3 separate regions of the Homo sapiens genome follow, and all the other regions are linked to region 2. Evidence: promoter capture Hi-C in 16 types of primary human blood cells and fetal thymus (Javierre and others, 2016). All regions are on one chromosome and are shown on one strand. Each heading gives the region's core, a stretch centred on a gene start or on the middle of the fragment in contact. The rest is flanking DNA. Distances are from core to core; before and after follow the strand shown. Region 1 holds the start of BCL7A (BAF chromatin remodeling complex subunit BCL7A). Region 2 holds the start of B3GNT4 (UDP-GlcNAc:betaGal beta-1,3-N-acetylglucosaminyltransferase 4). Region 3 overlaps CFAP251 (cilia and flagella associated protein 251).

Region 1 (3,447 bases), core at 675-3,174, 180 kb after region 2:
GGGAATCCCACAGTAGAGGGGGCTGCGGGTTGTTTTCCAGCGTGTGTGTGTTGGCCTGCAGCTGTTTCTGCCATTTTTAAATGGCTCCAGTCGGGCACCGGGCACCCTGTGTACCAGGGGAGCTCCCGAGACACCGACGACTTGGATCTCAACTTTGGAAAGCCTCCCCTTCTCACGGTTCTGAAAATTCTTTGTCCCACTGGAGCCAAACCCAGCCCACGGCCGGGCATCCGGCCATCGCAGCCAGCCCTTTCCATAGGAGGCCGGGGAGCACGTGGACTTTATTGATTTTCCTCTTGCCTTTTTTGTTGGGTTTGACTCAGAAAGGACAGCTAACTTGTGACACCGCCACACCGGAGGCTCGCCCCCAGTGGCTTTTAGAGACCGAGGCGCTACTCGAGAAACGACACCCCCAAACGTAAACATCCCCTGCCACAGGGCCTGCCCAGCTTCCAGGCTCGAAATAAAGGGTCGAGACGAGCCCGCGGGCGCTGACACTCAGAGCCAGCGTTGCGGCGGCTCCTCTCCCTCCGGGACCCCAGTGAAGGCGTGGGAAAAAAATAATAAAGTTGAAATCAGGCAGCGGGGAGTTTTCAACAACTCTGACCCAACCTGGCGATCTGCTTGCGCCTCGGGCCTGGCCCAGGGGCCGATTCCGAGCAGACCCCGACGAGGCCGCGGAAAGGTTCGATCCCCTTAATGTCGACCGGGCCACGCCGGGCGGACGCTAATGTGATCCCGAAAACCACGCGCGGCCGCCACCAAGTCCCCCTCTCCCCGGTGCAGAGAACAAAAACAACAGCTCCCTCCGCAAAACAAACACGAGCTCCCGGTGTGGAGAGGCAGCCGCGGCCCAGGACGAACGGCTTCTGGCCAAAAACATCGGCTGGCCCGAGCCCCCCGCCCGGGGCGCCGCGCAGAGCGGGGTGGGACGTGGGCGCCCCGCGCCCCTGGCCGCTGGCTCCCAGCGCTCGCCCCCATCTTTCCTGGTCGCCGAGAGCCCTCGCTCCAGGCAGCCCAAAGCGCTAAATTTAAACGGCTCGCGCTCTGCAAACTCCGCAGACTCGAGGGCGCCGGGCCCGGGAGGCGGGAGCGGGCGGCCGGGCGGGCCGGGGCTGGCGGAGGGCGGCGGGGCGCGGGCCGGGGTGCGCGGGGAGGAGACGGCGGCGGCGGCCCGCTCGGAGCCTGCACAATGGAGCTCGCGCTCTCCCCGCCGCCGCCGGCATCGCGGCCCCGGCGCGCGGGAAGCCGCTTTCATGTGACTTGCACAAAACGAAATGGCTTCTGGGGCCGGCCCCGAGCCCCCCTCCCGGGAGCCGAGCGCCGCGGCGGGGGCCGCCCCGCCGCTCCAACCGCCTGGCCCCGGCGCCCGCCGCCTCCGGGCCGCCGCGCCAGGTGGGCTACAGGCGCGAGCGCACCTGGGCAGCGGCCGCGGCCCCAGCCTGGCGCAGGTGACCCGGCTCGCGCGCCGCCCGCCCGTCCGCCCGCCCTCGCCAAGTCCCGGGGCCCGCGGCGGGGCTGGGCCGGGGCAGGCGGCCGGGGCGCTGCGCCCCGCGGCTCTCTGGAGCCGCGCTCGGGCTCGGGGCGGCCGGGGAGGCGGCTGGCGGCGGGCGCCTCCGCTTACCATTTGCGCACTTTCTCGATCGCCGCCATGACCCTCTTGATATCATCTTTGGCCCGGCTCCTCGTCTCGGCTCGAACCGACCTGCCCGACATGGTTCCGGCGGGGAGACGGAGGCTGGGGAGCGCGCCCGCCGGGTCCTGCTCGCGCTCCGCGGCGGCCACACTCGCGCCCGCCCGCCGCTCACTCACTCGCGCACAGACACTCGCACTCTCACACGCACACACTCACACACACACACACACACACACACACATACACACACACACAAAGCCCGGGGCCGCCGCGCGCCTGGCCCAGTGCGCAAGCGCCGGGCGGCAGCTGCACAGAGCAGGGGGAGCCGCGCCGCCGCCGCCGCCGGCAGTGCGGCCTCCGGGCGCCGCGGCCACCGGGCAGCGCCCCCGGGCCTCCTGCGCCCCCAGAGGGGACGCCCCGGACGCCCTCCTGGGGAGGTGGCGAAGGGCGCACGGCGACCCCCGGCTCTGGGCGCGCGGTGGGGGCGGGCGTGCGGACACGCGCGCTGACCCTTCCTCGGAGGCTGCAGGTGCCGAGGGGTCCATGGGAGACAGCCGGTCTGCGGGGCGCGGGGGGGTCGCGTTCCCCGGGAGCCAGCCCAGCTGCCCCTGCCCAGCCCCCAGAGCGCGGCGGCGGGTGCAGTCGTGCAAGTTTCTTGCGGGTCTCTTGACTTCTCCGAGTTGAAGGCACCGGTTCGGGACGCGAGGTGCTCTTGGAAAGAGTTGGGCATCGCGCATCTCTGCTGGCCCGCGGCCCTGTTCAAATGCGAGCTAGGACGTCGCCTGCCCCAGGCTTTGTCCTTTTGGAAAACTAGGGTTGTAGGAAGGTGCCTGGTGCCAGGCAGACCACCAGAGACTCTCGACCTTGAGTACTAAAGAGTTTTCTGCTCAGCAAAAGCTCAATGATGATCAGCATCGTAACAGGGACTCTTCCTCCCGCCCCCAGAAGTTCTCTTGTCATAAACAAGGCGAGGGGGTCTTCGCTGAGCTTCACCAGAGGACCACGATTTCACCTTAAGCCATTCCTGACTTCAGTACCAGACTGAGACCAGGCGCTGCTACTGCCCAAATGACCCCTGGTCCCATCTACAAGGAGCACTTTTGAGGCCTCAGAACAGAGCCCCGGGGAGAAATCTGCGATGATCAGGGTAACCTGGGTGCCGCATCTTGCTGTTCAGCTGCAGCGGAACCGGCCGGACCAGAGCTAATGCGCGCCCAGAATGAAGAGGGAGACCGAGAGTGGCCCAAATGTCAGCGCCCCGGGCCTGGAGATGACAGCCCGACAGCAGCCATTTCACAGCTGGGGAAACTGAGTCCTGGGAAAGTTTAAGGTTGCAGCCTTAAGTTGTTACTCATTCTAGACGTTTCCCCTGAGGGTTTGGTCTTTGGGGAACACGCTACTGTGGAAATGGAGAGACCGCAGGCCTTTTCCTAGGCATTTGTTTTTACTATTCTGAAACGCAGTCTCCTGACGTGAAAAATGAAGAAAAGAACAAATACTGGCCGGGCGCGGTGGCTCATGCCTGTAATACCAGCACTTTGGGAGGCCGAGGCGGGTGGATCACTTGAGGTTAAGAGTTCGATACCAGCCTGGCCAACATGGTGGGTGAAACCCCGTCTCTACTAAAAATACAAAAATTAGCCGGGCGCGGTGGTGGGCTCCTGTAATCGCAGCTACTCGGGAGTCTGAGGCAGGAGACTCGCTTGAACCTGGGAGACGGAGGTTGCAGTGAGCAGAGATCCAGCCACTGCACTCCAGCCTGGGAGACAGAGTGAGACCCTGTCTCAGAAAAAAAAAAAAGGCCGGGCGCG
Region 2 (3,865 bases), core at 57-2,556:
TCTGTCACCCAGACTCTAGTGCAGTGGCACAATTATAGCTCACTGCAGCCTGGAACTCCTGGGTTCAAGCGATCCTCCGGCCTCGGCCTCCCCAGTAGCTGGGACTACAGGCGTGCAGGGCCCGGCTAATTTATTTTTTGTAGAGATGTGGTATCTTTTGTTGCCTGGGCTGGTCTGGAACTCCTGGCCTCAAGCGATCCTCCCGCCTTGGCCTCCCAAAGCGTTGGGACTACAGGCGTGAGCCACCGGCCAGAGTTTTCTGAGCCCCCTGGAGATCTATGCGGGGGTGGGGGACAAGGGGGTCTGGCAGAGGCGGTGAAAGAATCTGACCTTTGGTAAAAGGCCACTCCTACCGCCCCTTCCCTGGTGGGCTGCGGAAGGCTGGGGAGGAAGCATGAACGGCAGCTGGAGACTGTCTCCGTGCTCAGGATGCCGGGCGGCGGCGGCGGCGGGGTCGAAGCGAGATGAGTCTCAGGTGTGCGAGCACCGCGGGCTGTGGACGAGAGGCCCGGGCGGGCGGCGGTGCCATTCACCGAGAAGGGCGCACAGCAGGTGGCTTGGTTCCGTCCCAGGAGGTTTCAGCCCAGGCTGCGCCGCGGCCCGGGTGGCCCCTGTCCCGCCGCGGGCGTCCCCAGGCGCTGGCCGCACGGCCTCGCCCCGCCGCCCTCCGAGCCGCGGAGACCCCAGAGCCCGGCTCTCCACCCGCCGCGGAGCGCACGACCCCGTCTGGTGGGGCGCGGGTCCTGAGGCTGCGCTCGGCCTTGGGCGGCAGCCGCCTCGGATCCCCACAGGACTCGGTGACCCAAAACGCCCTGGCGCGGGCAGGGGGCGAACTCTGGTTCATTCTTTCAACGCGACAGTCTCCGAAGGGCTGACGGCAGCAGAGACCCACTCTGCGGGGACCCCCGGGCCGGGGTTGGCAGCAGCGCTGCGCGTCGGGCGCGGGCGGCCCAGGCTGGCGGGGTCTACCGCGCCCGGCTCCAGCCTCTGTCCCCAGCCTGGAGAACCGAAGCCGAGCGGCCCGTGGGCCCCGAGCCGTGCCCGCCGAGGCCAGACTCGCGCCGCACCCGGGCGGGGCCGGCGTCCTCGCGGGGACCCTGGGGGACCGGGGAGCGGGCCGCGGGGTGCAAAGGCACGGCCGCCCTGGCGACGCCCCTCCCTGCACGGTGACCCAGCCTCCCTCACAGCAGCGGCGTCCCGGCCCCCAACCTACCTGAGCGTGACGCCGGGGTACGGGCGTGGAGCTCGTGCAGCGGAGCCAGGGCGGATGGCGCCCAGGTGCGCGGAGCTCTCGGGGCTCGGGAGTGGGCGGGGCTTCTGGAGGAGGTGGGAATTTGGGGCGGGGTTCTGGCGGGGGCGGGTTTGGGGCCTCCCCGGACCCAGCCGCGGGTCTCCGCAGCGCCGGAGGCTGGACGCACGCGTCCCGCGCCCGGTCCTGGGGTCCGCACGAGCCGGGTCGGGCAGAGGCTGCTCCTCCTCCCCAGGACGCCGGCGCCACACCCGCCCCCCGACGCGTGCGGCGGGACAGAAGCGGAGGCGGGAGTGCTGGGAACAGCCTTTACTGCCCACGCCCTACACGGCGAACATGCGCAGAGCCTCCTCCGCCGAGCGGCACTGGTTCAGCTGGATCTGCACCTCTACGGTCAGGGGCTCAGGGTGGTAATCGCCTTCGTAGATCGGAATCACGGCTTTCGGCTTTTCTGAGAAAATTTAAGTGCGAGCATGAGCCCCGGGAGACGGATGGGCTGGCGTTCTCGGCCGCCCTGACCCATCCCATATGCAAGCCCTGGACCCTGTCCCAGCGGGAGCACAGTTTTGGTCCTCGGGTGTTAACAGTAATAAGAAATAAAATTAAATTGTATTTAATTAGATCATTTAATAAATCGCAGCTGTTTGAGTTGCAAGACTGGCTGCTTTTTGCTTTGAGACAGTGTCGTGCTCCGTCGCCCAGGCTGGAGTGCGGTGGCATGATCCCGGCTCACTGCAACCTCCGCCTCCCAGGTTCAAGCGATTCTCCTGCGTCAGCCTCCAAGTAGCTGGGATTACAGGCGCCTGTCACCACGACCGGCTATTTTTTGTAGTTTTAGTAGAGACGGGGTTTCACCATGTTGGCCAGCCTGGTCTCGAACTCCTGACCTCAAGTGATCCGCCTGCCTAGGCCTCCCAACGTGCTAGGATCACAGGCGTACACTACCGAGCCCAGCTGCAGATATTTTCTTAAAAATGAAGTAATTATAGCACTTCAGGGGAAACAACTGAAAGCATTTCAATAAATGTATAACATTTGCCCTAAAAATGAGACAACATTGTATCTGCCACCATGAATTTACCAATTTTCCAATACGCAAAGACCTTTCTAATGATGTGGGTGGTGATAGTAAAGAACGTGATCTTTGGAAAATGTATAGTGACAGGTGTCAACTGTTGGAATATCTGCATAAGTCTGTTAACCTGTAGTTTACAAGTAACTCATGCATGTTACAAACTGCATGGTAAAATATCCGTTCAAAATGCAAACTAGATTAATGAATTTTAATCTGATTATGAAAAATTCAATATAGATTGTTTTCACATTGTAACAACCTTTAAGAAATTACCACTTGTCAAATTTGGTGTAATATTAAAGAAATTATATTATTTTAAGGTCTATTAAAATACTCCCTCTTTTCCAATTATGGGCCTGAGGTTGGATTTTCTTTGTGCACGTCAATTACAGCAACATATTGCAAGCAGTTGACTGCAGAAGTAGCTGTAAGAATCCAGCTGTCTTCAATTAAGCCAAACATTAAAGAGATTAAAAAAAAAAAAACCTTTTTAAGGCCATCTTAACCCACAGATAAGTATCACAAATCACATGTTCATATAGGCATGGGTTTTGAAGTCCAGCAGCATATGCCCTCCAACGTTTACTTCTTCAGGCTGGCGTGAAATGGCGCGATCTCAGCTCACTGCCACCTCTGCCTTCCAGGTTCAAGCGACTCTCCTGCCTCAGTCTCCTGAGTAGCTGGGATTACAGGCACCCACCACCGCACCTGGCTAATTTTTGTGTTTTCAGTAGAGACGGGGTTTCACCATGTTGGCTAGGCTGGTCTCGAACTCCTCACCTCAGGTGATCCGCACGCCAAAGTGCTGGGATTACAGGCGTGAGCCACCATGTTGGGCCTGTTTCCACTTTTCGGCTTCAGTATGATGGGTTGCTCTGCTATGATCGGGCCTCATGCTTTTTGCAGCCACCTCCCACGGCACTCCCTGTCTCCTTTCTCTCCCTCCCAGTTGGTTGTTCTTTCTGAACCTCAAACCTGAGACGCACCCATTTCAGATGCTTCTCCAGCTCCCCACAGGACAAGCCCAGGCCCCTCTTACAGCAAATAAGGGCCGATGGCCTGAAGCTGGAGGCAGACACCTCGGAACCAGATGAGCCCCAGGCAGCCCCAGCTCCAAGCTCTTGCCCCGCTATGGCTCTACCACAGGTGCCTTCCCCACCCTGGTCACCACCCACACAGGCCCTGTGGTCTGAGGGCTGCAGAGAAGAAATAATAACACTGGATCTAAGGGGGGATGTGGCCTCTCCCCAGGCCAGAAGCTACCATTCCCCACCCTTTGGTTCCTTTGGCCTCCCCCAGGGCTGGCCCTCAGCAGGTCCTCCTGACAATCCCTGCCTTTGGTCACCACCATCGGCACTCACCTTTTTTGGCAACTTTCTTAATCTTCTTTGAATCCTGAGAGAAAGAACCACAAAACGAGATGCTTACTGGAGAGGGGAGGTACTAGAGAAGGGGTGTCTCTGGGGCCCCACCTCCTCCAAGGCTCTGACAGGTCCAGGAAGGCGGGGGTCTCCTGGTGAGGGTGGCTGCCCCAGCCCATC
Region 3 (3,419 bases), core at 801-3,300, 200 kb after region 2:
GACCACATGTGTCGCGAGGGAGGCCTGCTGCTGGCTGAGGACCCCTCTGCCCCCTGAGACCACGCCCCCTCCATATCCCGTGCAAACCCCATCCAGGCAGCATCACCAGAGACCCAGAGATCCAGCCACCATGTACATCCAGCTGCCAGGGTTTTTCTCGCCTCCGCCCACTTTTCTATTTCAGAAACAGTGGAATGTCCAACTTTGTGAATTCCATTGCTCACCAGAAACTTGCTTTAATGTCTAAATGTTCTAAAGATGAGAGGGGGGAGGGAAATGCATAAAAAGCAGTGCCTCATGGAAAACACACACATGTGCATGCACACACACCCAAAGTCCTTTGTGCTTTAAACATTCCTGGTAACTTCACTGACCATCCTGGCCGGAATCTTCTGAAATGGTTAAGCCAAGAATTTCAGTCGCGAATATTTCTGCAGTGATTTCGTCTGGAAGTTCTTCTTCAAGGCAAATTTCTGAACCTAGCCAAAACAAGAAAAGAACACCAAATGCCTTCATGATGATTATGTTTCTTTCTTTTTTGGGTGAGGGGAGGGGTTTGAGACAGGGCCTTGCTCTGTTGCCCAGGCTGGAGTGCAGTGACACGATCATAGCTCACTGCAGCCTTGAACTCCTGGGGTCAAGTGATCCTCCCACCTCAGCCTCCCAAGTAGCTGGGACTACAGGCACACGCCACCACGCCCAGCTTATTTTAAAATTTTTTTGTAGAGATGGGGTCTCGCTATGTTACCCAGGCTGATCTCAAACTGCTGGCTTCAAGTGATCCTCCCACCTCAGACTCCCAAAGCGCTGGGATTACAGCTACCGCATCTGGCCTCAATGACTATGTTTCTAACTCAGGAGGATTTTCCAAAAACACAAGGAAATGCTACTAAACAAAAACAAGAGGGGCTTTGTGCTGTGATTTGGCTTTGATTCCTTGAAAAACTCTGGGTGGAAATTGCTTAAAAATCTCTCCTTTACGGAACAGAACGCTGTTAACCAAATCTCTGCAAACCTTACTGGAAAGCCTTAACCACATGGTATGATTGATTTTTCTGTTTCAAGATGCCTGGGAACACAGCAGAAATATATAACAATCAGGAAAGGTACATTCTGAGATCTGAAGCACATAAAGGAATGGGGTAGGGAGAGCTTGCAGGTTGGGAATGACCTGTTAGCTACTGGAGTCTGAAATTATCTGAGTTCAGGGACTTTGTTTAATTTGATGTGGGGAATGGACAATAAAAGGAGAGGGAAAAGGGGAATGGGTGAGGGGTCTTTGCACCCTCCTCAGTCTTGGTGATGGTGGTGGGATCTGACCATCCCCGGGCTTGTCAGCAGAGTTGCTCCTGTACCAGTGAGCCTAGAAGAGCCGTTTAGATTGGTTCCTCCTGAGCTGAAAGTCACGGCCCTAACTTCAGGTCCAGTGCACGAAAAGGTGAAAAATACTTAGGCTATAGCAGGAAGGGACAGGAGGATGATCTTTAAAAACCTGAAAGTTTTGGCAGCTTGTAGCTGGGCTTGTACTGCCCACCAAGTTGATGCTCTCTCCTTCTCCAAATCTTTCTCTCTCTCTCTCTCTTTTTTAATTGAGACAGGCTCTCACTCTGTTGCCCAGGCTGGAGTACAGTGGCACAATCCTCACTCACCGCAGCCGTGAACACCTGGGCCCAAGTCATCCTCCCACTTAAGCCTCCTGAGTAGCTGGGACTAAAAGCATACACCGCTATGCCCAGCTAATTGTTTTGTTTTGCTTTAATTAATTAATTAATTTAGAGACGGAGTTTTGCTCTTGTCACCCAGGCTAGAGTGCAATGGTGTGATCTCGGCTCACTGCAACCTCCACCTCCTGGATTCAAGCGATTCTCCTGCCCCAGCCTCCCAAGTAACTGGGATTACAGGTGTGTGCCACCATGCTTGGCTAATTTTCGTATTTTTAGTAGAGATGGGATTTCACCATGTTGGTCAGGCTGGTCTTGAACTCCTGACCTCATGTGATCCACCCTCCTCGGCCTCCCAAAGCATTGGGATTACAGGCGTGAGCCACTGCGCCCAGCCTGGTTTTTTTTTTGTAGAGATGGGATCTCGCTATGTTGCCCAGGCCAGTCTCAAATTCTGAACCTCAAGCGATTCTCCTGCCTTGGCCTCCCAAAGTGCTGGAATTACAGGCGTGAGCCATGGTGCCTGGCCCCCAAGTCTCTCTTTACATACCTATTCTCCTGAAACAGCTGTCAAACTGGATCCTCTACGGGTGGCCAATATTCACCCACCCAAGCCGGCAAGATGACAGGTCAGTGGAACAAAGGGAAAATAAGCCCAGAAGAAACAAAAGGACGGACAGAGCGCGGGAACAAAAGCCACCACTCACTGTTCTTTTCATAACTTATTCATGTGGGATTCCCAACAGACATGCTTTGTTATGTGCAGTCTTAGGGAGAGTGGCTTGCACCGATCAGGAGAAATAAATGTACTGAAGTCTACAACAAATCAGTGAGCCACAGCTACATGCCCAGACAAAGCCAGCTGGGGTACCTTTGACGGAGCAGGTTGCAGGCTCGGATTTCCATCCCTCGGGATTCAGGCCAAACAGTGAAGCAAAGCAATCCAACATCTCCTCCTCCGTCATATGCTCACCTGTGTGTCAAAGAGTGAGAAGGTGATTGTTTAACTCTTGAGGCTAAGCATACTGTCAGGGCTTAGCGTTATTATTCAGAGGTCTTAAAGAGAATTATCCCACTATTTTTTTTTCTTTTACTCAATTGAAAAAAAAATTTAGGCTGGGCGTGGTGGCTCATGCCTGTAATCCCAGCACTTGCAGAGGCCAAGGTGGGCGTATCACTTGAGGTCAGGAGTTCGAGACCAGCCTGGCCAACATGGTGAAACCCCATCTCTACTAAAAATACAAAAATTAGCCGGGTGTGGTGGCGCGGCCTGTAATCCCAGCTACTCGGGAGGCTGAGACAGGAGAATTGCTTGAACCCTGGAGTTGGAGGTTGCAGTGAACTGAGATCGTGCCACTGCAGTTCAGCCTGGGCAACAGAGCGAGACTCTGTCTCAAAAAAAAAAAAAAAAAAAGCAACAAAAACAATAAAAACTTTTCTGGTGGAGATGAAGTCTTGCTATGTTGGGCCAGGCTGGTCTCGAACTCCTGGGCTCAAGTGATCTTCCTGCCTCAGCCTCTGAAACTGCTGGGATTACAGGTGTGAGCCACTGCGCCCAGCCCCTTTTCTTTAGACACAAAAATGATCTAGAGTCCCATGGTACTGTCACATATGCTTCCTAATGGTGTTAAACAGGGTCCTCCAGGCAAGGAACATACATGGGGCTGGCATAGAGAAATAGGACAGCATGCTGCGGGGACCAGGCTCTGCTTCATTTCAAATTCCCTCCTCTCAGAACCACCCACTTGGACTAAGATG

What was found. The method cuts DNA at HindIII sites, captures the fragments that hold promoters and counts their contacts. A CHiCAGO score of 5 or more calls a contact.
Region 1: a contact is called between the fragment with the promoter of BCL7A here and the fragment with the promoter of B3GNT4 in region 2, in 1 of 17 cell types (endothelial precursors). The highest score is 5.1, in endothelial precursors.
Region 3: a fragment that was not itself captured here is called in contact with the fragment with the promoter of B3GNT4 in region 2 in 4 of 17 cell types (erythroblasts, megakaryocytes, M1 macrophages and 1 more); the score reaches 5.9 in erythroblasts.

What each region holds. Positions count from the first base shown.
Region 1 is chr12:122,020,361-122,023,807 of GRCh38, reverse strand. BCL7A (BAF chromatin remodeling complex subunit BCL7A) reads right to left here and starts at 1,924. Exons shown (of 6, transcript NM_001024808.3): 1 at 1,625-1,924. The coding sequence starts at 1,716. RefSeq lists silencers at 1,206-1,365, 1,516-1,835, 1,966-2,045 and an enhancer at 556-1,371. The HindIII fragment of the contact is 6,381 bases long and covers 1-3,447 here.
Region 2 is chr12:122,201,150-122,205,014 of GRCh38, reverse strand. It overlaps B3GNT4 (UDP-GlcNAc:betaGal beta-1,3-N-acetylglucosaminyltransferase 4), which reads right to left and starts at 1,306. Exons shown (of 3, transcript NM_030765.4): 1 at 1,214-1,306; 2 at 331-493. The coding sequence starts at 396. It overlaps LRRC43 (leucine rich repeat containing 43), which reads right to left. Exons shown (of 12, transcript NM_001098519.2): 11 at 3,686-3,719; 12 at 1,544-1,700. The coding sequence ends at 1,573. RefSeq lists a silencer at 992-1,621. The HindIII fragment of the contact is 10,141 bases long and covers 1-3,865 here.
Region 3 is chr12:122,000,712-122,004,130 of GRCh38, reverse strand. CFAP251 (cilia and flagella associated protein 251) reads right to left here. Exons shown (of 22, transcript NM_144668.6): 21 at 2,533-2,634; 22 at 212-479. The coding sequence ends at 367. The region is part of intron 1 of LOC124903038 (a long non-coding RNA gene); the gene reads left to right. Among named protein-coding and RNA genes, the nearest start is that of BCL7A, 19 kb to the left of the region's middle. The HindIII fragment of the contact is 6,065 bases long and covers 1-3,419 here.